Linked DNA regions of Homo sapiens: all the other regions are linked to region 1. Evidence: promoter capture Hi-C in 16 types of primary human blood cells and fetal thymus (Javierre and others, 2016). All regions are on one chromosome and are shown on one strand. The core of a region is centred on a gene start or on the middle of the fragment in contact, and the rest is flanking DNA. Distances in the headings are between cores, read along the strand shown. Region 1 holds the start of SYTL2 (synaptotagmin like 2). Region 2 has its middle 5.1 kb from the start of MIR6755. Region 3 overlaps EED (embryonic ectoderm development). Region 4 has its middle 19 kb from the start of EED. Region 5 has its middle 12 kb from the start of LINC02695.

Region 1 (4,882 bases), core at 1,655-4,154:
TTGTATTTTTAGTAGAGATGGGGTTTCACTATATTGGCCAGGCTGGTCTCGAACTCCTGACCTTGTGATCCACCTGCCTCGGCCTCCCAAAGTGCTGGGATTCCAGGCATTAGCCACTGCACCCGGCCTGATATTATTATTAATGTTAATCTGGATCTTATATTTTTTTCTACAATGAATATGTTTAGTTTTGGTAATAAGAAAATAAAGGATATTTTTATTTTTAAAACATTCTTCATTCTGAAAAATGGGAAAAAAGTGGATGTCTCCCCAGGGACTAGAGAAGCTCTATTACTGTGAACCAGAGAGTGGAAAATTCAAACAGTAGTCTAAGCCCTCTAGAACCTTGGTCCTACTTCTCCATCTGGGTACTCGAAGCCCCTAAGAATATATAACAATCTGCCAGGACACCAGTTTTATTCAGATATTTTGAAGAAAAAACTTTATATTTTTAAATCAAAGTCCATATATTATGAAATCAAATGAAAAAAATTGCATAAGCACAGGAGCATGTGTTGGTCTTCTTTTCCATTGCAGGATCTTCTATGGAAAAGTTTGGTAAGCCCTAAGACAAACATTATAATCTTATCCCCCCAACTTTTGAGAGAGTGACAACCTCATTAATACCAAGTAAGTTTTCCTCTTAATTTAAAAAAAAAAAAAGCCACATTTTTCTTCATCTACTGTATGTTTAAAAATTCTTTGTAAAACAGGTGACAAGCAAACATATTTCCAGGGAGCTCTGGAAGCCTATACAGGCACAGTTCACCCTACCTCCCTTGCCCAAAGAGGAGAAACACCTAGACTAGCATCTGGGTTTTGAAGATGGTGGAACCTGGGCTTCCCCTAGGCTGCCTCACATTTCTACAAGGCAGCAGACCACTCTGCACAAGGTGCTAATTCATTCATTCCACAAATGTTTATTGAGCAAAACCTGAAAAAGGCCTCTTAGGGGACAGTGGAATCATTCACCAGCCAACGGTTAGGGCTAACGGGTCAGATGTGGACAATCAATCTTTCATTAGACCCCAAACCACCTCTAGGATAAAGCAAACAGGGCCCTGCCCCACCCACGCACTAGCAGCTGGGCAGGATTAGGGTAGGCCTTCTAGAACAGTACTGCTGCTGAGAGGCTAAGGCAGTCACAGATTACCTCCAGAATAACGGAAACTCCTGCACCATAAATGACATAATAGCTCTAAGATGTTTTGCATAGTGCCTGACACCTGGTGAGAACACAATGTTAGACATTTTTGCTCTCCTTATTCCAGCTTGCTCTTACTTAAGGAGCACAAAGACAGTGTAAAGAACACAGGTTTTAGAATCAGAGATTGGATTTGAATTCCAGCTATGCTACTTCCTAGCTAAGTGACTAAAGGAAGCAATCTTTCTGAGCCTGTTTCTCACCTATAAAATAGGGTATAGTACATCACCCCTCATGTGGCTTTGTGAGAATTAAGGATATATTACATACAAAGAAGTGTCTGGCCCATAGTAAGTGCCCACTAAACAGCAGTCAACATTGCCCTGCTGCCGTCCCCACACCTCTTCTCCTTCCTAGCTGCTCTTGATGGGTTCTGCAATCTGATTTCACCTGGATACCACACTAAGGGTGAGAAGGGGCAGAACTTCAGGGGTGGAGGAAAGTGAGGGAAGGGAAATGCTGGAGACCTTCCATAGAAATCCAGCCAAGTCCTCAGCTCCTTTCAATCATCCTACTCTATCTGGCTGCTCCATCCAGCAGACAGCAGGGGTCACCATCCTGGTGGGGAATGGCTGCCAACAAGGGGACGGGAAGCTGGATGGCAGTTTGCATCCACCCCACCTTCCAGGGTCTATCTGTCTGAAGCCCCACCGGGCTTCCTCTGCACATCCCTGCCGGGCTGTGTGGCTCAGGGGGCTGACAGGGTGATTCATAGCCTGTTCTTATCTAGGCTTCTATCTCAACCCTGCGCCCAAAGCCCTGGAGGCTGCTGGTCACAAACCAGCACTAAATGAAAAGAAGAACTTTTCATTAAGGCAGGAAGTGGAGCCCCTCAAGGTCAAAGGGGATTTATAAAGAGAGGAGGAAAGAAAGGGAAGACGCGGCAGGATGGGTGCAGAGAAAGAGAGACCCACTTCCTATATGCTGGTGGAGCCCTGTGTCTTAGACGCTAAAAACAGTCGCTTTTCCACTTCAAAGGATGATAAAGCCCACTCGTGTAGTTTATAGCTCGCCGTGGGACGAGGTGTGGGTATGGAAGAGAATTCCAAAACACGTCTTATTTTCAAAGGAGAAATCATCATCCCCTGGCCGGCCCTTCCCAACACCCCACCTGTAAACAGGTGCTGACGCTCCTACCTTTCTGCACCTGAGCAATCTGGGGGCAGTTACTCTGCAGCCAGGTCTCCCCAGCACCCAGCCCCAAGCCCAGGTCAGTCCCTGAAAGCCCTAGAAAACGCGATAGCTCAGCAGAACCCTCGCCTACCCGGGCATCCCAGCTTCCTGGCCGCCTGGGCAGCGGAGGTGGCTCTGGAGTAGGTGGGAAACTGAGGAAAGGAGCTTTCCCCGTGCCAAAACGCAGTTCCCATTTTAGAACTGGTTAGACTAAGGAACAACATTCTACACCACCTCCCTCACTTAACAGAGGAGGAAGCAGAGACCAAGAGAGGGAAACAAAGTTGCCCGAGGTAACACAGCGAGTGGGCCAAGTAGAGACTGGAACCCGAGTGCGCACCTCCGAGTCGCTGCCGGGCAGGGAGCGCGCCTCGCCGTCTCTCTTGTCTTCTGGCCCCCAGCCCTCGGCCTGGCGGTGCAAACCGCGCAGCCCCGGGCGCGGCGCGTTACCTTCCCCCGGGCAAGGCGTTGCGAGCCTTCACTCTCCCGACGGACGCTGGCGGCACGGCCCGGGTGTCGCCCGGCACTGTCAACGCAGAGCGGCGTGCGCGAGTCCCTCCCCGCTACCCCCGCCCCCGGCGGGCGGTGCGGTGGGGCCGGTCCCGGGTGCTCGGGCCAATGGCGCTTCGCCCGCTCCCCGCCCCGGCCCGCCCCGGCCTCCTCGCCCGGCACACAGCGCCTGCCAGCCCCTGCCCTCTCCCCTTCCCTCCCTTCGCCCTCCGCCCCCGCCTGCTGCTTCTCTCCGGTTCCTAGCCTCCTTCTCAAGTGTACCTTGCCCCGAAACAACCTGTTTTCTGTGCAAATAAAGCAGCACTGTTGTTATTGTTATTATTATTTTTATCACGGCGCGTTAGGGGGCCTTGGAGCCCGAGAGTGTGGAGCACTAGGAGCCTCTGCACTCCGAGAAGGGACAGCCACCGCGCAGGGAAAGGGGCGCGGAGGGTATGGAGCCCGGTCATGGGGTAACTTGCTTTAACCCTCGGGACGTCAATTTCCTCACATGTGAAATAGAAGAAGGGGGGAAAAAAGTTGTTGAGAGGACTAAATGAAGTGATGCTTTAAAATACAATAATACCTAGAGAAAGGTGAGGGCGTCATGCACTGCCTGAGCTACTTACTGGGGTATGCACAGAGGACTGGTAAGCTCCTGGAAGACGCTGTGTGGCAGGGAGGCAGACAATGCAATACAGTAAATACAATATTGTGGTCGGGCGCGGTGGCTCACACCTGTAATCCCAGCATTATGGGAGGCCGAGGCAGGTGGATAACCCGAGGTCAGGAGTTCGGGACCAGCCCGGCCAACATAGCAAAACTCTGTTCTAATTAGAAAAGAAAAAAGAAAAATTAGCTGGGTGTGGTGGCGAGCGCCCGTAGTCCCAACTACTTAGGAAGCTGAGGCAGGAGAATCGCTTTAACCCGAGAGGTGGAGGCTGCCGTGAGCCAAGATCGCACCACTGCACCCCATCCTGGGTGACAGAGCAAGACTCTGTCTCAAAAAAATAAATAAAATAATTTAAAAATTGTATCACGACCTATTTTTTACAAGTTACCCATGATGGGGCCAGCCCAGGCAAACCTCTGAAGGAGATGAACCTTAAAGCCTTTTTCCTTATCATTTCCTGGACTAGTGTTGTCCATTTAACTGAGGGTGGCCCAGGTCTGCCTTTGGTTCTTCCAAAGGTCTTCCTTCTCCCAAACTTACAAATACTTATCCCCAAGGGCTTCAGTTAGTGCCCAGTGCAGGCTGCTAGCCTGGCCCAAGAGTCCTGGCACTGTGCAGAGATGTGTATTCTGGCTTCCTTCAGCCTTTGAGAGCCTGGTGTGTCCCTGTGCTGGGTGAGCATGCCACATGCAAAAGAGGAATAAGCCACTGGTCTTGCCTTTGAAGAAACAAATTTGTAAATAATTTCATTTTAGGGTAAGTGTTATAATAGGTTGACAAAGTGTTGTAGAGTCACTACGCTGAAGGAGGGGGACAATAAAAAATACAAATGTGACCAAGGTAGGTCTTGAAGGAGGGCTACAAATTAGGTCAGATTGAAGGGGTGACAGAAGACTGGGCACAGAGAGGCAGGCAGAGACATGGAGATGCCTGTCATATGTCACGGCTATTGCACAGGATTTGGGACAATGAGGCAGAGATGAAGCTAAGGAGGTAGGTGGGCAGATGTTGGAGGAGTGGCTGTACCTGCCTTGCTGAGGGAAGCAGGCTGTGTCCTGTTGGTGATGGCTGTTGGCGAATGATTTTAGGCAGGGGAGTAGCGTGACCTCAGATGCTTTTGGTACTTCACTTTTATTGTTGATTGCACCTGCCTTGGTTATCCCCTTCCTGCCCCTCTCTAGCTCTGGAGGGCAGGCACTGGGTCTTGCTCACCTCTGGGTGCCTTGTATCATCTGGCATAGGACTTTGAAGGAACTAAATACATGCTGTTCCCAGTATCACTCGTCCCCTGGAAACAAATAGCAATGCCTAAATGCTAGAGAGGGTCACAGGATCCTTGCTTC
Region 2 (4,882 bases), core at 1,530-4,029, 470 kb after region 1:
CATATGTTCAAACATCCTTGCATCCCAGGGATAAATCCCACATGGTCATGGTGGATGATTCTTTTAATGTATTGCTGAAGATGATGGTTTGCTATTATTTTGTTGAGTGTTTTTGTATTTACGTTCATCAGGGATATTGTTTCTGCTAGTGTCCTTGGTCTGGCTTTGGTATCAGGCTAATACTGTCCTCGTAAGATGAGTTTGGAAGTATTCCTTGCTCTTCATTTTTGGGAAGAATGTGAGGATTGGTATTAATTCTTTAAATGTTTAATAGAAACAGAAAAGTGCCGTCTTGGGCTTTTCTTTGATGAGAGACTTGGTGTATTAACAGTTGTAATATTTCCTCTTTCATTTCTGATTTGAGTCCTTTTTTTCTTATTAAGTGTTGCTATAAGGGTTTGTCAATTTTGTTTAGCTTTTTGTTTTTTCATTTTTTTATTTTCTATTTCATTTATTTCTGCTCTGATCTTTGTTATTTCCTTCCACTAACTTGAGGTTTAGTTTGTTCTTTTTCTAGTTCCTTGAGGTGTTGAGGTTTAGGTTGTTGGTTTGCGATCTTTTTTAATGCAGGCATTTAATGCTATAAACTTCCCTCTTAAAACTGTTTTTGCTGCATCCCATAAGTTTTGACATGTGTTTCCATTTTCATTTGTCTCAAGGTATCTTTATATATGTTTCTAGAGTCGGGGTCTTGCTATGTTGTTCAGGCTTAGAGTTCAGTGGCTATTCGCAGGTGCAGTTATAGCTGTCACTGCACCCTCGAACTCCTGGGTCCAAGTGATCCATTCCTGCCCCAGCTTCCCAAGTAGCTACGACTGTAGGCATGCATCACTGTGCCAGGCTTTCAAGACATCTTTCATTTTCTCTTGTAGTTTCTTTTTTGACCCAATAATTGTCCAGTATATTTCTTACACAGTGTCTTAGGAAAGATAAAACCAGCTTTGATATGTTGAGTATTATGTTTCCGAAAAGACAAGACAGGGTTGTTTTTCTTAACTTTATACTTGAAAGTTTCAAACATATAGAAGAGTGAAGAGAGTAGTGAATACTATGAACCAAGTCAAGCTTCAACAATTATCAATACATAGCCAATCTTGATTTATCTATACATCTACACCAGATTGTTTCGAAGCACATCCCAGACTTTATTTTAACTGTAAAAATTTACTCTATATTTCCAAGAAAGACTTTAAACAAAATATCAATACCATGCTCACCCTTTAAAAAGTAATTTCTAAATTATATATGCAGTTTATTTAGAAGTATAAAGAAAAAAGTAAAAACTACCTTTAATTTTTGTACACAGAAATAATTGCTTTTAGTGATGGGATGTATTTTGTGTGTGTAAGTTTAAAGAATTGTGATTGTCTGAATATATTGTTTATATGCTGCATTTTCAGATTCCCAGTAATTCTTAACAGATTATTCTGCTTGCATATCTTTTAATACATTTCCATGAATGTACCATTATCTATTTAATGCCTTGTTGTTGGACATGTTCATTTCTTCCAGATTTTTGCTATTATAGGTAGTATTTTGAATAACAGGCCAGTACACAAGTCTTTGTGTAACTCTCAGGCTCATTTTATAATTAGATAGGATATTTCTTTCTTATTAAGTTTGTACCAAATTACACTTGCCCCAACACATATGGTAGTACCCATTCCAGTTTTGTTGTTACTAGTTTCCTGTATATTATCTCTGCAGATCAGGGTGTTTTTTCTGTAAAGAGCTAGATAGTACATATTTTAGGCCTTGCCATACAGTCTCGTCATAACTATTCAACTCTGCTGCTGTAGGGCGAAAGCAGCCGTAGACAACTGGGTATGGCTGTGTACCAATAAAACTTTACTTACCAAAACAGGCAGTGGTGGAGCATAGTGGCTCATGCTTGTAATCCCAGCACTCTGAGAGGCTAAGGTGGACAGATTGCTTGACCCCAGGAGTTCAAGACCAGCCGGGGCAACATAGTGAAACCCCACCTCTACTACAAATACAAAAAAAAATTAGCCAGGCATGATGGTGCATGCCTGTATTCTCAGCTACTTGGGAGGCTGAGGCAGGAGGGAAAAAAAAGAACAACAAACAACAGGCAGTTGGCTAGATTCTGTCCACAAGCCATAGTTTGATAACCCCTTCAGTGGATACTAGTTATTAAAGCAAAACAAACAAAATAAGTCTTAAGGAGGCCCCTAAAGTTGTTGAAGATTTAAGTCAACCGAATAGTTTATAATCAAAGATCACCAGATTGACAATGAAGCAAGCTCTATGGCTGAGGGTTGAAACAATAAAAAATAAAAAAATAAATAAAAATAGACCACCAAAGACTTTAGATATTGCAATTTTCAGGTAATATAAAACAGCCACCTTATTTTAAAATTGCAACTCTCCTTCCTCTCTGTACTTTCTCCTTGTTTTGTTACTCTCCATTTCAATTATCACCTACTATACTGCGTAATTTGCTTATTTGGTTTATTGTATTTCTTCTGCTACTGTGATGTAGTCTATATGAGAGCAGGGTTTTTATTTCACTGCTATAACCCCAGCACCTAGAGCAGTGCCTTTCATGTAACAGGGGTCAGAATTAAACAGTCATAAAAATAAGCTAACAGTAAGAGGCTATGATGACTGACGAGGTGAATATGAGAGGGAAACAAATAGAACTTTTACAAATGAAAAATACATTTGTTGAAGTAAAAAATTCAACGGACGGGTTAGATTAGTCACAGCTGAATAGAAATTAGTGAATTGGAGGTGATCTGTAGAAATTACCAGAATGTGGCACAGAGAATCAAGAAAATGGAGAATATGAGAGGTTAAGAAATATAGAGGATAAAATGAAAAGATCTAACAATATATTTAATTGGAGATCCAGAAAAAAAAAAAAAAGAGAATGAAGTGAAGGAAATATTTGAAGAGGTAATTATCTTACTTGCTACCAGGATACTTGAGTGCCATGTGGGCATGTATGATAGAGCTAGGAGAAATAGCAGGTGGTTCTGGCATCTTCCTTACCATCGTGTCTCCCACTTTGACTGCAGTCGTGACCACTGATGTGCCAGTCTGCTTCAGTCTCTACCAAGCCCAGAACTTCACCCTCTATCGGGTCCTGAGGAAAAGCAGCTTCCACGGTTTATTTCAAGCTGGATGAGGATCCAATTGATGCCATATCCCTGTTGTAGCCTTTTGTGGTGAGACAAGGCGCTCATCAGGACAGCAGATTCTTCAAAGCCTTCCACACCAATGTGAAGGACAGTAAGATGTGGAAGTTCCTGGGTTTTGTTTTTGGACAATGGGAACCAAGGGTGGCATCCCTACACTCCATAGTGTAGGGCCTGACACGATGTAAACTCCCTCCTCCAGTAATCATTCATCAAGAGTTTCAGTGTTGTGATAACCTGTGAGTTCTCCACATAGTGGCACATCATGGACCTCATTTCCTTCCTGGATTACAACTGCACCTTGGACAGTGAGGGCTCTTTTGGAAGTGCACACCTAGCTGACCTGCCCTCCAACTCAAAAGTGGACAAGACCTGTTCAGAGGTGTTAAGCACCCCCACACTCAATGTCCATTCAGGCCAAAAGTATGCTCTTTGCCCCAAGGGAACCAAAGTCATGATGACATATGCCAGAGCTTGGGTAAAGGATACAGTGAGGATTCTTGGATTTCAGAACAAAGTATTCCTGGAGCCCCCTGTACTTCATGAAGCCTATGTCCAGCTTGTTGTCAAAGAAATGTAGATTAATTCAAAAGGAACACAGGATTCTATCGGTCCTTTTCCTAGTCCTGAAGACAAGGTCAGCTATGTAATATCCAGGGCCCAGTGCAAAATGAAAAGGCAAACTCCTTGGGCCGGGTGCGGTGGTTCATGCCTGTAGTCCCAGCACTTTGGGAGGCTGAGGTGGGCGGATCATCTGAGGTCAGGAGTTTGAGACAGCCTGGCCAACATGGTGAAACCTCGTCTCTACCAAAAATACAAAAGTTAGCTAGGCATGATGGCATGTGCCTGTAATCCCAGCTACTTGGGAGGATGAAGCATGAGAATCACTTGAGCCCGTGAGGCAGAGGTTGCGGTGAGCTGAGATTGTGCCACCACACTCCAGCCTGGGCAACAGAGTGAGACTCTGTCTCAAAAACGAAAAACCAAAAAACAGAAAAGGCTGGGCACGGTGGTTCATGCCTGTAATCGCAGCACTTTGGGAGGCCAAGGCAGGAGGACTGCTTGAGCCCAGGAGTTTGAGACCACCCTAAGCAACATAGCAAGACGCTGTCTCTACAAAATATTTGAAAATTAGCTGGGTGGAGTAGTGTGCACCTGTAGTCCCAGCTACTAGGGAGGCTAAGGTGGGAGTATCACTTGAGCCCAGGAGGCTGAGGCTGCAGTGAGCTGTGATCACACCACTGCAATCCAGCCAGGGTGACAGAGCAAGACCCTGTCTCAAAAAAAGAAAAAAAAATTAAAAGGAAAAATTAGGTTAAAGGTACTAACTATAAAGCTTTTTCCATCCTTTAACAATTTCTCAACTGGTCGTGGTTTTAAATTTTGCTACTTAATGCCATTCTAAGTAAAGTAAAATTGTTAGCATGAATTTTATTATTCATTTTCATATTGTGTAATGATCATTTTATTTTTTTGAGACAGAGTTTCGCTCTTGTTGCCCGGGCTGGAGTGCAGGGGTGTGATTTCAGCTCACTGCAACTTCCGCCTCCCAGTTTCAAGAGCTTCTCCTGCCTCAGCCTCCTGAGTAGCTGGGATTACAGGCGTGCGCCACCAAGCCCAGCTAATTTTTGTATTTTTAGTAGAGACAGGGTTTCACCATGTTGGCCAGGATGGTCTCGAACTCCTGACCTCAAGTGATCCAACCTGCCTCAGCCTCCCAA
Region 3 (4,882 bases), core at 1,412-3,911, 450 kb after region 1:
AAAAGCTAGTATCTTGTTCTGTGGGATAAAATTGCTTATGTCAAATCTGTATTTTATTTCAAAAGTATATTTCCATCAAATTAGGTTATTTAAAGAAAGTTATTTGAGATAAATATGCTTAAAATATTTTTCAGACCACATGAATATTTCTGAACTTACTGTCTTAGTCCACTTTAACCTGGCATTAGAAAGTAAGAACAAGAAATTGAACTTGAAGCCTTTTTTTTTTTTAATATATAATTGGAATTAATTCATTCATAAGAGTGGTACTCTCATGACCTAACGCTTCTCATTAGGTCTCATCTCCCAACACTGCTGCATTGGGATTAAGTTTCCCAACCTGCTTTTTCGGGGGTTCATTTAAGCTGTAGCATTCTGCCTCTAGCCCCCAAAATTCAAATCCTCAATCAGATATGGGTGAGACTCAAGGCAGGATTCCTGCTGAGGTAAATTCTCCATCTGTGGGTCTGGGAAATCAGGCATCTTATCTATTTTCAAAATACAGTGGTAGGATAAGCATAGGATAGACAGTCCCTTCCAAAAAGGAGAGATAGGCAAGAATAAGGGTAACTGGTCCCAAGTAAATCCAAAACTCAACAGAACAAACAAGATTAAATCCAAGGCACCAGAATAATCTTCCTTGGCTCCATGTTTTGCCTTCTGGGCATGCTGGGTGTGGAGTTTGGGCCCCAGAGGCCTTGGGCAGCCCCATCTTTATGGGTTTGCCACGTGCAGCCCACATAGCATCTTATGAGTTGGAGTCGGGTGCCTGCAGCTCTTGCAGGCTGGTGGTGTGCCCTGGTAGCTCAGCAGTTCTGGGATTTGGGGGATGGCTTTTTCCCCATGGCTCCACCAGGTGTTGCTGTAGTAGGAACTGCTGTGTGGCTCTGCCCTTCTGAAAAGTTTCTGCCTGGAGCCCCAGGCTCTTTGTGATGTCTTTTGAAATCTAGAGAGGAAGCCGTGCCTCCACAGTTCCTGCATTCTCTGCATCTGCAGACTTAACACCACATGGACACTGCCAAGATTTGCTGCTTGTACCTTCAGAAGCTATGGCCTGAGCCATACTTGAGCCCCTTCAAGCTATGGGGTGACCAAAGAGCACTGCCTTGGAATAGGGGGAGCAAAGTGCTGAAGTGGCCCTGGACAGTGAATGTAGAGGTCCCATGGGTGCTACTCTGGAAACCTTGCCCTCAAGGTCTTAGCTATGTCTTGAAGATCTCTGAAATGCCTTTGTGGTCATTATCCCATTGTCTTGGTGAATAGAACCTGCCTTCTCTTCCCTATTAATCTCCTTAGCAATTAGTCACTTAGCTACATCCTTAATATTCTCTCTCAAACATGCTTTTTTATTTTATATATTTTTTGAAGAGACAAGGACTTGCTATGTTGCCCAGGCTGGTCTTGAACTTCTGGGCTCAAATGATCCTTCCACCTCAGCCTTCGAAAGTGTTGGGATTACAGGTGTGAGCCACCACACCCAGCCTGCTTTTTTTTTCTTTACATGGCCAGGCTGAGAGTTTATAAATGTTTCTGTTTTGCTTTCCTTTTTAATTACAAATTTCACCTTTAGATCATTTCTCATTTTATGATAAGCAGCCAGAAGAAGCCATGCATCACTGTGAATGCTTTGATGCTCAGATATTTCTTCTGCCAGGTATTGGATTCATTGCTCTTAACTTCTGCCTTCCACAAAGTCCTAGGGCATGGACACAGTCCTGCTAAGTTCTTCACAACTGTATTGCAAGGATGGCTTTTATTTATTTATTTAATTTATTTTTTTGAGGCAAGGTCTCATTCTTGTCACCCAGGCTGGAGTGCAGTGGCACAACCTCTGCTCCCTCACACCCTCTCCTTCCCTTTTGCTGTGAGACGATTCAGCATGAAGGCCCTCACCGGATGCCGGCACCATGCCAGTGATCCTTCCACTTCAGCCTCCCGAGTAGCTGGGACTACAGGCACATGCCACCACACCCCGCTAGTTTTTGTATTTTTTGTAGAGATGGAGTTTCACCATGTTGCCCAGGCTAGTCTCGAATTCCTGAGCTCAAGTGTCCACCCACCTCAGCCTCCCATGCTGCTGGAATTACAGGCATGAGCTACCACACCTGGCCTGGCTTTTTTTTTTTTTCTTTTAAAGACAGGGTTGGTCTCTGTCACCCAGGCAGTGCAGTGGCATGATCATAGCTCACTGCAGCCCAAAACTCCTAGGCTCAATTGATCCTCTTGCCTCAGTCCCCTAAGTAGCTAGAACTGCAGGTACACGCCACCACACCTGGCTAATTTATTTTCTGTAGGGATTGGGTCTCACTATGTTACCCCGGCTGGTCTTGAATTCCTGGCCTCAAGTGATCCTCCTGCCTCAATCTCAAAGTGCTGGGATTACAGGCATGAACCATCACACCCTGCCAACAGGGATAGCTCTTACTCCATTTTCCAATAACTTCTCATTTCTGTCTGAGACCTCACTGAATGAGACCAACCTCATTCTGTCTGAGACCAACATTGTTCTACCAACATTCTGATCACAACCACTTAAGTAATCCTTAAGAAGATAAAGGCTCTGCCTGAAGCTCTTGTCTTCTTTTCAGCCCTCACTGGAATTACCCTCAATGCTCCACTCACACCAATATAGGCTTTTTCTAGCCTGCTCCTCCAGATTCTTCCAGCCTCTCCTCGTTACCCAGTTCCAAAGTCATTTCCACATTTTCAGGTATTTATAGCAATAGTCCCGTTTCTGAGTACCAACATTCTGTCTGAGTCCATTTTGTGCTGCTATAACACAATACCACAGACTAGGTGACTGACTGATGGATTAATTAATTTCTTTTCTATTGCTCAGGCTTCACTAATTTTTAAATTTTTTGTTGAGACAGGGTCTTGCTATATTGCTAGGGCTAGTCTCAAACTCCTGGGCTTAAGCAGTCCTCCCATCTTGGCCTTCTGAAGTGCTGGGGTTACAAGCATGAGCCACCGTACCTGACTGGGTGATTTATAATGAACAAAAATTTATTTGGCTCCTGTTTCTGGAGACTGGGAAGTCCAAGAACATGGTGCCGGCATCTGGTGAGAGCCTTCATGCTGAATCGTCTCAGCAAAAGGGCAGGAGAGGGTGTGAGGGAGCAAGAGATTGAATTTATAGCCTCAGGCCCTTTTATAATCAGTATTAATCCATTTGTGAGGATGGAGCCCCCATGACCTAAATACCTCCCATTAGGCCCCAGCTCACACCACTATTGCATTGGGGATTGAGTTTCTAGCACATGCTTTTGGGGGGGCCTATTCAAACTATAGCACTTACCTAGCTAATTCTACATCTGATGTAAACATTTTAAGTTGCTATGTAATATGGATTCCATTTTTAGGCTTTACTGTGCATAACTTACATCTAGACTTTAGTAGTTTTTCTTTCACAAGATGTTGAAAGTTCACAGTAAATAAAAAACATTCGCCTAATTTTTGTATGTTTATACTAGATCATGCTTTACGATTATGGAATATCCAGACGGACACTCTGGTGGCAATATTTGGAGGCGTAGAAGGGCACAGAGATGAAGTTCTAAGTGCTGTAAGTTGGAAACTGCAGGGCAATGACTTTCAGGTTTACATAGCTGTGAACAGTCTCCATGGAACTGTTTCCTTATAAGAAAGTGTGTTTCATGTAGCCTGTCAGGCAGACATTCACTTACATTTGACATAGAAGATTTTAATCTCCAGATGAAGGAATAAAACAAGTAAAGACTATATTTATTTATTTATTTTTTAAATTACTTGCACTGTATACCAATCCCTGGAGTCTTATGAGAGCAGTATGATCTTGCTCCTTTCCTTTTAATCTAAAATCACTAAGTTAATGTTTGTTTTGCCATTTCGCAGTTATTAAAGAAAAAAATTAAACTATGTAGCCATTAAAGTGCTTTTCCATCTTTTGTTTGAAGTTGAAACATAACGTTTTTTGCTATTTGGAAGTGTTTTATTGTGCTCACACTGTTTTAGGTAACTTATTTCTAGCCATTCTCTTTGGGTGGCGTGGTATAATACAAGACCAGTTTAAAGATAAATACCACCTTTATATTGATGTATTGTAATCCATTGGTCCATTATACAAGTGTTTTTAGTTAGGTTTCAGATTTTAACATTATTTTTGCTTATGTTCCATATTTAGCTCATTTGATTCCTGTAGTAATTTCACATCTCTTAGGTTGTTTTCCATTAAACTATGTAAAGGGGCACCATATTTTACAGCATGTAACATTTTAGTTGAAGGTACTAAAATATTCCTATGTTGAAGTTTGGATTCCTTTGTGAGAATCATACCTTCCTTCGAATACCTTGTCAACTTGGATTTCCTAAAAGTTGCAGTAGCATTCTACGTCTGGCTTTATGTGTGTAAAAGCCAAGTGAACTGTTCTTTATTAATAACTCCAAATTAGTGGTATTGTCTCGAAGGATGTCTTGTTGCTGTTGACAGTGAGGTAATTAGAAGTACCACAACTGTGAATTCAATAAACATCAAGCCTAAAGTTCTTAGGCTCTTATAAAATGGTGCTCATAATTAATGCAAAGGCTGGATTAACATATAGTATCTAGGTTAGTAAGGAAAATATACTCCTTCAATAGAACTCTCTACTGTTATTTCTTAGAATGAGAGCAGGAGACAGTATGTAGCTCTTCTGTGTAATACAGGAGTTCACTGGAGGTGGATAGGTGTGTGAGATTTTCATTACTCATTATGTGCCTTTTGCTAAATTAAATAGCATCTCTGGGCCTTAGTGTCTGCCTATGAAATGAGGTTGTTACAATAGATGATCTGTTACATGCCTGTTAAAAATTAGTAAACAGCAAATGAAAAAAGTTAAAATCTGTTTTTTATTAGACTTTTAAA
Region 4 (4,882 bases), core at 1,425-3,924, 410 kb after region 1:
AACCAACTCAGGTTAGGTGGCTAGGAGAGATTTTCCTGGCAAGCTACGTTTTGAAGGATGAGCTAAATGAAAAGAGTGAGGTAGGAATAAGAGGGGATTTTAAACAAAAGGAAACATATATTATGGAGATCACAACTTAACCAGTAAGCTGTCATTTATTACACGTCTCCTTAAAAAGTTTCAACCTGTGAACATTCAGAAATACAAAGCTCTGCTCTGGAGCAAAGATACATCAACTATTTCAGGCATGCCAGGAGTTAGTGGTCAGGTAGGGTCATTTTAGCCCTAGCCATGTGACCATTGGGTTATTCCTCAGTCTAATGCCTACCATGAGTGAAGTCGGCAGAGCAAGGACTTGAAGTAAGCTGGAGGTAAGCTGGAGTGTGAAGTGTGAAATGAACTGTATGTGCCCCTTGCAAGGGTGAGCAGCCACAGTGCCAGCTGATGTTACCTTGTCAGAATGTAGCTTCAGTATTGCTATGGCTTTGTTTTTCTTTCAACTTGCAAATGCTGATAACTAATACAAAATTTTAAACTGTTGTCTGCAAACATAGTCTTGGTCCAAAAGCTCCTTCAGCTGATAAGCAACTTCAGCAAAGTCTCAGGATATAAAATCAATGTGCAAAAATAAGTAGCATTCCTACACACCAACAACAGTCAAGTTGAGAGCCAAATCAGGAATGCAATCCCATTCACAATTGCCACACACACACACACACACACACACACAACCTAGAAATACAGCTAAGGGAGGTAAAAGATCTCTACAAGGAGAACTACAAAACACTGCTCAAAGAAATCAGAGATGACACAATCAAAAAAAAATCCATGCTCATGGATAGGAAGAATCAACATCATTAAAATGGCCAAACTGCCCAAAGCAATTTATAGATTCAATGCTATTCCTATTAAACTACCAATGACATTCCTTGCAGAACTAGAAAAAAACAATTTTAAAGTTCCTATGGAAACAAAAAGAGCCCAAATAGGCAAGGCAATCCTAAGCAAAAAAAGAAAGCTGGAAATGTCACTCTACCTGACTTCAAATTATACTAGAGGGCTATAGTAATCAAAACACTATGGTAATGGTACAAAAACAGACACAGAGACCAATGGAACAGCATAGTGAACCCAAAAATAAGGCCACACACCTACAACTATCTAGTCTTTGACAAAGCTGACAAAAACAATGGGGAACGGACTCCTATTCAATAAATGGTGCTGGGATAACTGGCTAGCCATATACAGAAGACTGAAATTGGATCTCCTTCCTTAAACCATGTAGAAAAATCAACTGAAGATGGATTAAAGACTTAGGTTTCATGATAAAGACACCAAAAGCAATTGCAACAGAAGCAAAAATTGACAAAAGGGATCTAATTAAAGAGCTTCTGCACAGGAAAGGAAACTATCAATAGAGTAAACAGACAACCTACAGAATGTAAGAAAATTTTTGCAAACTATACACCTGACAAAGGTCTAATAATATCCAGCATCTACAAGGAACTTAAATTTACAAGAAAAAAACAAACAGCCCATTAAAAAGTGGGCAAAAAACGTGAACAGGCACTTTTCAAAAGAAGGCATATATGTGGCCAACAATCATTAAAAAACTCAACGTCACTGATCATTAGAGAAATGCAAATAAAAACCACAATGAGATACCATCTCACACCAGTCAGAACGGTTCTATTTTTTTTTAAGACAGAGTCTCACTCTGTCACCCAGGCTAGAGTGCAGTGGTGCGATCTCAGCTCACTGCAACCTCTGCCTCCCAGGTTCAAGTGACTCTCCTGCTTCAGCTTCCCTAGTAGCTGGGATTACAGGTGCATGCCACTGTGCCCAGCTAATTTTTGTATTTTTAGTAGAAACGGGGTTTCACCATGTTGGCAGGCTAATCTTGAACTCCTGACTTAAAGGGATCCACTCGCCTTAGCCTCCCAAAGTGCTGGGATTACATGCATGAGCCACCACACCTGACCCAGAATAGCTATTATTAAAAAGTCAAAAAATAACAGATGCTAATGAGGTTGTGGAGGAAAAGGAATGCTTATACACTGTTGATGGGAGGATAAATTAGTTCAGCCATTGTGGAAGACAGTGTGGTGATTCCTCAAAGACCTAAAAACAGAAATACCATTCAACAGAGCAATCCCATCACTGGGTATATACCCAAAGAAATATACATCATTCTGTCATAAAGACACATGCACATGTATGTTCATTGCAGCACTATTGACAATAGCAAAGGCATGGAATCAACCTAAATGCCCATCACTGGTAGACCGAATAAAGAAAATGTGGTACATATACACAATGGAATACTATGCAGCCATAAAAAAGAACAAGATCATGTCCTTTGAGGAAACATGGATGGAGCTGGAGGCCATTATCCTTAGCAAACTAATGTAGGAACAGAAAACTAAATACCACGTGCGCTCACTTACAAGTGGGAGCTAAGTGATGAGAATAAATGGTTACATAGAGGGAAAAAATACACACTGGGGCCTATTGGAGGGTGGAGGTTAGGAGGAGGGAGAGGATCAGGAAAAATAACTAATGGGTACTAGGCCTAATACCTGGCTGATGAAATAATCTGTACAACGAACTCCCGTGAAAGAAGTTTACTTGTATAACAAACCTGCACATTTACTCCTGAACTTAAAAGTTACATTTTAAAAACAAAATAACCTAAATACATAGATAAATAAAACAAAAAATGTTATGTGGGCCAAACAAAAAAAAACTATGCAGGCTGAAGCCTGGAGAACACAACTTTATGGCCTTTGATCTTTGTATAATTGATGGATTTGCTCTTAATTTTCAATGTTTTACAAAAATTACAAATGTTATCATTGATCTTTCATGTTCAGTAAGATCAAATGCATCTGGAGTATTAACAATGTTAGTAGGGAGAGACAGGCAATTAGTTTAAAAACAAAAATAGATGTAAAAATTGAAGATGATAAATGTATGTAGTGATGGGATAAATTGTTCAGGAATAATGACAATTCTGAGGAACAAATGTCTGATCATGCAATCACTCATATATCTATGCTATCAACAATAATAAGCAAGAAGAATAAAAAAATTGTCAGAAGGAAAGGCTTTATGGGTGTACAGCTAGAGAAGGAATATTAATGTCAGATGCCAGAATCAAGTTAATTCTGGATAAAAACATCATTTGTTTAGGAACTTGAGGACTGAACATGATAAAAATGCACCTGATGGAACTTTTTACATAGCCACACTTAAGTTCTGTAGTTTAAGGACATCATAGCTGCCAAGGAGATTTCTACACTTGCAGCCATCACCAAAGAGGGAGATTTCCTTCCTAAACATATGTTCAACGTGGTGGAAACTAGTATATGAGAAAAGATAGCTGAGAGATTGTACAGGAAGTAGAATAGAGCATGTCTAGTCTGTGATGTTGAAGGCAAACTAATTTTTTAAAGCAATAATTATAAATGTTTATAATTCAAATAGTATAAAAAAGACACACAGTAAAAACCAACTTTTCCTTCTTTCCTATACCCCCAGTTCCCTGCCTAAAGGTGACCTTTATTAGGAATTTAAATATTTCCTTTCATACACATAAGGGCACATTATACACACTGTTCTGTAACTTTTTTCCCATGTAATATATTTTGGAGATTGTTCTATATCAATTCATATAGATATACCTTATTTATTTTAAAGACTACATTATAGATATACTATAACTTATATAATCAATACCCCATTGATGGATCTATATTGTAGTCTTTTGCTATTACAAACAGTAAGTGTGCTGGTTCTCTTCAGAGAACTTATCTGGTGGAATTCCATCCAGGGCTTGCAAACATAAACATCTCTTAGTTCTTTTGGTCTTGCGAACAAATAAACTTAGAAAGAGCCATTTGGAAATGAACTTGTTTGTTACTAGAGAAGAACTGTGTGGAGAGAGGGCAAATGTGGCAGAATGCCCAGCAGAAAAACTAAATAGAAAATTAGGTCAGGATTGCTTCTCAGCCTTTTGACTAAGATCAAGTATAAAAATTAGGCTGGGTGCGGAGGCTCATGCCTGTAATCCCAGCACTTTGGGAGGCCGAAGTGGGTGGATCACTTGAGGCCAGGAGTTCAAGGTTATAGTGAGCTATGATTGTGCCACTGCACTCCAGCTTGATTGACAGAATGAGACCATGTCTCTAATAATAATAATAATAATTTTAAAATAATTAACAAGATCATAAAGGGCTTCATCTAATAACATAAAGAATTTGACCTTATCCTAAAAGACATGCAGAGCCAGATTGGTGTTAAGCAGAATGACAGGATTATATGGAAAGTTTACTATAACTACAATGAGAATAGATTAGAGGAGAACCAGTAAAGACAGAGAGTGGCCAGAAGAGGGACTATTCAAGTCATCCAAGAAATAATTTATGAGGATTTTAACTGAGGTGATAGCAATGGAAATGGAGAGGAGGCGATATGATGTTAGAAAACCGTGAAGGGATAACATCTACAGACCTTTGGCTGATCTGACAGGGGTCTGATTGGATGGGCAGAATCTAGGATGAATACCAGGTTTCTGGATTGGCTCACTTAGTATTAGTCACCACATCAGAAAGGAACAAGTACAGGGGGAAAGATGATTACTTGTGTTTTGGATGTTTGACCTTCTGGGGCCTACAGGTGGTTATATCCAATAGGCGGTAGAATATATAGGTCCAAAGCTCAACAAGAGCGCTACATACCAAAAGCAGACATCCACGTATGTATATGACGGGTGAAACTGAGAATGGAACAGGCCACCTGAGGATTACATAACCTTAATAGGACAAAAGGAAAAGTGGGGAGAACTCTAGAAAAAGAGACCTTTAGGTGGGAGGCAAAGCAA
Region 5 (4,882 bases), core at 1,540-4,039, 400 kb after region 1:
AGGAACATATATAAATAGAAAAAAATATTATCTGTTGAAGACCTTTCTATTTTTCACCCTCCATATTAAGATTGTAGTACTATTGTTTGTTTACAATTCATACCACACCTGCTTTCTAAGAGGCTTTAAGTAGACGTATTAGGCAATATATTCACTTATTCATTAATTCATTCATTCACTGATTTACTCAATAGTCACTTAATGAGTCCCTATCATAGGCTAGGGATAGGATAGAAAGTCTAATAAAAGGTTGGGCATGGTGGCTCATGCCTGCAGTACCAGCACTTTGGGAGGCTAAGGCTGGCAGATGGCCTGAGTTCAGGAATGCTAGACCAGACTGGGCAACATGGCGAAACCCTGTCTCTACTGAAAATACAAAGTGTGGTGGCACCCACCTTTAATCCCAGCTACTTGGGAGGCTGAGGCATAAGAATCACTTGAACCCGGGAGGCAGAGATTGCAGTGAGCCAAGCTGGCACCACTGCACTCCAGCCTGGGTGACAGAGTGACACTCTGTTTAAAAAAAAAAAAAAAGTCGAATAAAATGTGGTAACCTCTTTCAAAATCTGGGAGCAGGGGGGAGACACATAAGTAAAGCAATTGCTACTGTGCCATAAACACTGTAGCCTAAAGGAGAAGCATCTAAGTGAGATTGGAACTTCTTGGGAGATGCGACCCCTGAAACTAGCTTTGAGGTTAAGAGGAGGAGATAGCTGGAGAATTGGGGATGGTGGAGCAAGGGTTTTTATGAGAAGGAAATGTGCCATGTGCAAAAACTGAGATGGGAAATAAAATTACATGCTCCAGAAACTGCTCAAGAAATTCAATAGGACAGATCCATAACATCCTAGTTGAGGAATGGCAGGAGACAAGCTAGTGAAATGAACATGTGTCAGATCTAAAAGCATCTTGTGTCTTAAAGTAAGGAATAGTAACATCAAAGCTATGGAACACATCGAAACTCCTCTGCCAGGCAAGTGGGGTCTCAGATGCCATTCTGGGATTATACTTACAGAAGCTGGGTGTGGTTATGGGTAGGGTAAGACACTCCCCATAATATGCATGGAATAGAACTGAGAGGATCTGAAAGTGAGGGCCCAGGGGACAAAGCTAGGATTAATTCAAAGCTGACAGGAAACCAGAAATAATTAATATGAAACATGACCAGAAAGTACTAAGACATAGCAAAGAGGAAAAAATGCAGGGTCAGAGGCACAGCTTAGCATCTTTTTGTTGTTGCTGTTGTTCAGACAGAGTGTTCAGTCTGCTGCCCAGGCTGAAGTGCAGTGGCGCAATTTCAGCTCACTGCAACCTTCACCTCTTGGGTTCAAGAAATTCTCATGCCTCAGCCTCCCGAGTAGCTGGGACTACAGGTGTGCACCACCACACCCAGCTAATTTTTTGTATTTTTAGTAGAGATGAGGTTTCACCATGTTGGCCAGGCTGGTCTCAAACTCTTAGCCCCAGGTGATCTACCTTCTTCAGCATCCCAAAGTGCTGGGATTACAGGCATGAACCACCACACCCAGCCACAGCTCAGTATTTTAAAGCCACCTTTTCCCTTTTTGAGCTCCTTGAGCCAGTGTCTGGATGGTAAAGGAATATTTTGAACTGATTTGGACCTAAGGCTATCCAAGTATTTTAAGCAGAAGAGTGATAGGGCCTGTTGTTGCTCTTTTAACTCTAGACACACAGCATCTTGCTATGTCCTGTGAGCTCTACCCCATATGTGTCTGGCCCAGAGAAAGTCCTCAATAAATATTTAGTGAATGGCATGGACTTGCTACTAATTGTTAAGCACAGGAATGTTTTGTTTAGTCTATATTAGGTGAGTATAATGCTACAAGAAAACTGATTTCATAGAAACCTACAAGAATTTACTCTTCTCTTTTATTTATTGTAATAAATGTCCACTAAAATTATGTTATTTACCAGCCATCCAAATGTAAAATTAATCTTTTTTTTTAACAGTATCTCAGACATACACATTTAAAGCATACACATTAAGGAATAAGACAATAGAAAAGACACCCAAAGAAGTAGAACCAACTAAAATATAAAAACAAAATAACAAACAGTTTACCAATAAAGTGGTATACGTTTGCGTAACATCAATACAGAAACAGTAGCTAAGATGATTGCAAAAATGGAGTTAAGCAATACAAAGCTGCTTACAAGACTTGTACGTGTAAATTCTTGATCGTAATTGAACTAATGGTGGTGAAAATAAAGTTAAAATTTCCTGCAGATGTCAGGCGTGGTGGCTCACACCTGTAATCCCAGCGCTTTGGGAGCCTGAAGCAGGAGGATCGTTTGATCCCAGGAATTCTAGGCCGCAGTGAGCTATGATTGCGCCACTGCATTCCAGCCTGGGTGACAGAGAGAGAGAGAGACAGTGTCTCTAAATAATAAATACATACATAAAATATTAAAAAGAAATAAAAGAGATTTCCCATGGGAAACTTCATCATTTGCCTGCCATTCTAAAGTTGGAGTGGGGGGCAGAATAGGTAAGCTTTGGGTCCAGTTTATCATGAGAGAATGCATTAAGCAAACAACAGTTGAACAGAGTGTGGCCAGCTGGTACAATATGTCACAATGGTGCCATCATGAGACAAGGCCACGTAATATAAAAAGCGAGGAAGGAAATACAAACTCCAAGTAAAGACCAAATTGCTAAGGGCTGCAGGGCCTCCCAGACTACTCTTCATTCACAGCATAGGCTTCAAATGTGCCTTGTGAATGTGCATATGTAACATCTGAATGGATGTGCATTCTAAGTTAAAGTCAACACACATTTAAATCTGTACAGTTTTAGTTATTGATATGAACTTTCAGCCTCAGATTTTAGAATGATTTCTTCATGCTTAACAACATCACCAGATAACAAGAAGCAGCAAGCAAAAATGGCCTTTATGGTATTATAAAAAGTAAATATCTTTGTCTTATCTTTGTCCCAGATTCCTGGCACACAGCTCCCGAAACATTTTGGAATCCTGGGAATGATAAGGGTAAGACTATATTTTGCATGCTAATTAGATGTCTGGTGGCTGACGGCCCCTAGCAAGCTTCAGCATAGGGGCTGGAAGCCAAAAAGGCCAAGTCTTGATTAGAAACTTGGAACTTTCATCCCCATTCTGCTGGGGAGGGGAGAGGGGGTAGAGATTGAGTTCAATCACCAATGGTCAATGATTTAATGAATCATGTCTACTTAATGAAACTTGCATAAAAACCCATAAGCTGGCCGGGCGCGGTGGCTCACGCCTGTAATCCCAGCACTTTGGGAGGCCGAGGTGGGCGGATCACGAGGTCAGGAGATCGAAACCATCCTGGCTAACACGGTGAAACCCCGTCTCTACTAAAAATACAAAAAATTAGCCGGGCGTGGTGGCAGGCGCCTGTAGTCCCAGCTACTCAGAAGGCTGAGCCAGGAGGATGGCGTGAACCCGGGAGGCGGAGCTTGCAGTGAGCCGAGATTGCGCCACTGCACTCCAACCTGGGCGACAGAGCGACACTCTTTCTCAAAAAAAAAAAAAAAAAAAAAAAACCCATAAGCAATGGAGTTCAGAGAGCTTCCCAGTTGGTTAACACATCCGCATTCTGGGAGGGTAGCACACCCCAGCTCCATGGTACAGAAGCTGTTATGCTTGGGACTTTCCTGGGCCTCGTCCCTATACCACTCATTGGCTCTTCATTTGTATCCTTTAAAATACAAATATAAGTAAAGTGCCTTCCTGAGTTCTGTTGGCCAGTCTAGGAAATCATTGAAACTTAGGAGGGGGTTATGGGGATATTTGATTTATGGCTGGTCATATAGAAGTACAGGTGATCTAAAATAGCATGGTACTGGCATTAAAAACAGACATATAGACCAATAGAACAGAATGGAGAGTCCAGAAATAATTCCACACATTTATGGTCAATTGATCTTTAACAAAGGTGCCAGGAGCACACAATGAGAGAAGGGCAGACTATTCAATAAATGGTATTGGGACAATTGGATATCCACATGCAAAAGAATAAAACTGGACCCTTGTCTCACACCATATGCAAAAAAAAAAATCAACTCAAAATGGATTCAAGACTTAAACATAAGACCTGAAACTGTAGAACTACTAGAAGAAAACATAGGAAAAAAGCTTCTTGACGTTGTCCTCAACAATAACTTTTTTTGGTTATGACCCTAAAAGCACAGGCAGCAAAAACAAAAATAGACAAACGAGAGTGCATCAAACTAAAAAGCTTCCTATAGAAAAAGAAACAATCTATGGAATACAAGCTATGTGCAGGAGAAAAAAGACAAGAAACAACCTATAGAATGAAAGAAAGTATTTGCAAGCCATATATCTGATAAGAGGTTAGTATTCAAACTATGCAGGGAATTCAAACAACTCAATAACAAGAAAACACATAACCAGATTTAAAAATGGGCAAAGGGTCGGGTGCAGTGGTTCACGTCTGTAATCCCAGCACTTTAGGAGGCCGAGGTGGGCAAATCACCTGAGATTGGGAGTTCAAGACCACCCTGACCAACATGGAGAAACCCTGTCTCTACTAAAAATACAAAATTAGCTGGGTGTGGTGGTGCACGCCTGTAATCCCAGCTACTCAGGAAGCTGAGGCAGGAGAATCTCTTGAACCCGGGAAGCAGAGGTTGCGGTGAGCTGAGATTGTGCCATTGTACTCAGCCTGGGCAACAAGAGTGAAACTCCGTCTCAAAAAAAAAAAAAAAAAAAAAAAGAGAAAAGAAAGGCAAAAGACCTGAATAGACATTTCTCAAAAGAAGACGTATGAATGGCCAACAGGTATATGAAAAAATGGTCAACATCACTAATTATCAGGAAAATGTAAGTTAAATTAAAACCACAATGAGATATCACCT

The links. Contacts are between HindIII fragments. The CHiCAGO score rates a contact against its expected background, and 5 or more counts as called.
Region 2: a contact is called between a fragment that was not itself captured here and the fragment with the promoter of SYTL2 in region 1, in 7 of 17 cell types (activated CD4 T cells, non-activated CD4 T cells, total CD8 T cells and 4 more). The highest score is 9.8, in activated CD4 T cells.
Region 3: a contact is called between a fragment that was not itself captured here and the fragment with the promoter of SYTL2 in region 1, in 7 of 17 cell types (total CD4 T cells, activated CD4 T cells, non-activated CD4 T cells and 4 more). The highest score is 8.5, in total CD4 T cells.
Region 4: a fragment that was not itself captured here is called in contact with the fragment with the promoter of SYTL2 in region 1 in 3 of 17 cell types (activated CD4 T cells, total CD4 T cells and naive CD4 T cells); the score reaches 7.7 in activated CD4 T cells.
Region 5: a fragment that was not itself captured here is called in contact with the fragment with the promoter of SYTL2 in region 1 in 5 of 17 cell types (activated CD4 T cells, non-activated CD4 T cells, total CD8 T cells and 2 more); the score reaches 8.1 in activated CD4 T cells.

What each region holds. Positions count from the first base shown.
Region 1 is chr11:85,808,237-85,813,118 of GRCh38, forward strand. SYTL2 (synaptotagmin like 2) reads right to left here and starts at 2,905. Exons shown (of 20, transcript NM_206927.4): 1 at 2,718-2,905. RefSeq lists a silencer at 2,864-3,043. The HindIII fragment of the contact is 7,624 bases long and covers 1-4,882 here.
Region 2 is chr11:86,280,979-86,285,860 of GRCh38, forward strand. It overlaps a transcript of EED not described here and the pseudogene LOC100289518. Among named protein-coding and RNA genes, the nearest start is that of MIR6755, 5.1 kb to the left of the region's middle. The HindIII fragment of the contact is 3,432 bases long and covers 1,064-4,495 here.
Region 3 is chr11:86,260,699-86,265,580 of GRCh38, forward strand. It overlaps EED (embryonic ectoderm development), which reads left to right. Exons shown (of 12, transcript NM_003797.5): 7 at 3,474-3,565. Among named protein-coding and RNA genes, the nearest start is that of MIR6755, 15 kb to the right of the region's middle. The HindIII fragment of the contact is 6,340 bases long and covers 1-4,882 here.
Region 4 is chr11:86,223,219-86,228,100 of GRCh38, forward strand. No RefSeq gene overlaps it. Among named protein-coding and RNA genes, the nearest start is that of EED, 19 kb to the right of the region's middle. The HindIII fragment of the contact is 7,356 bases long and covers 1-4,882 here.
Region 5 is chr11:86,203,468-86,208,349 of GRCh38, forward strand. No RefSeq gene overlaps it. Among named protein-coding and RNA genes, the nearest start is that of LINC02695, 12 kb to the left of the region's middle. The HindIII fragment of the contact is 553 bases long and covers 2,514-3,066 here.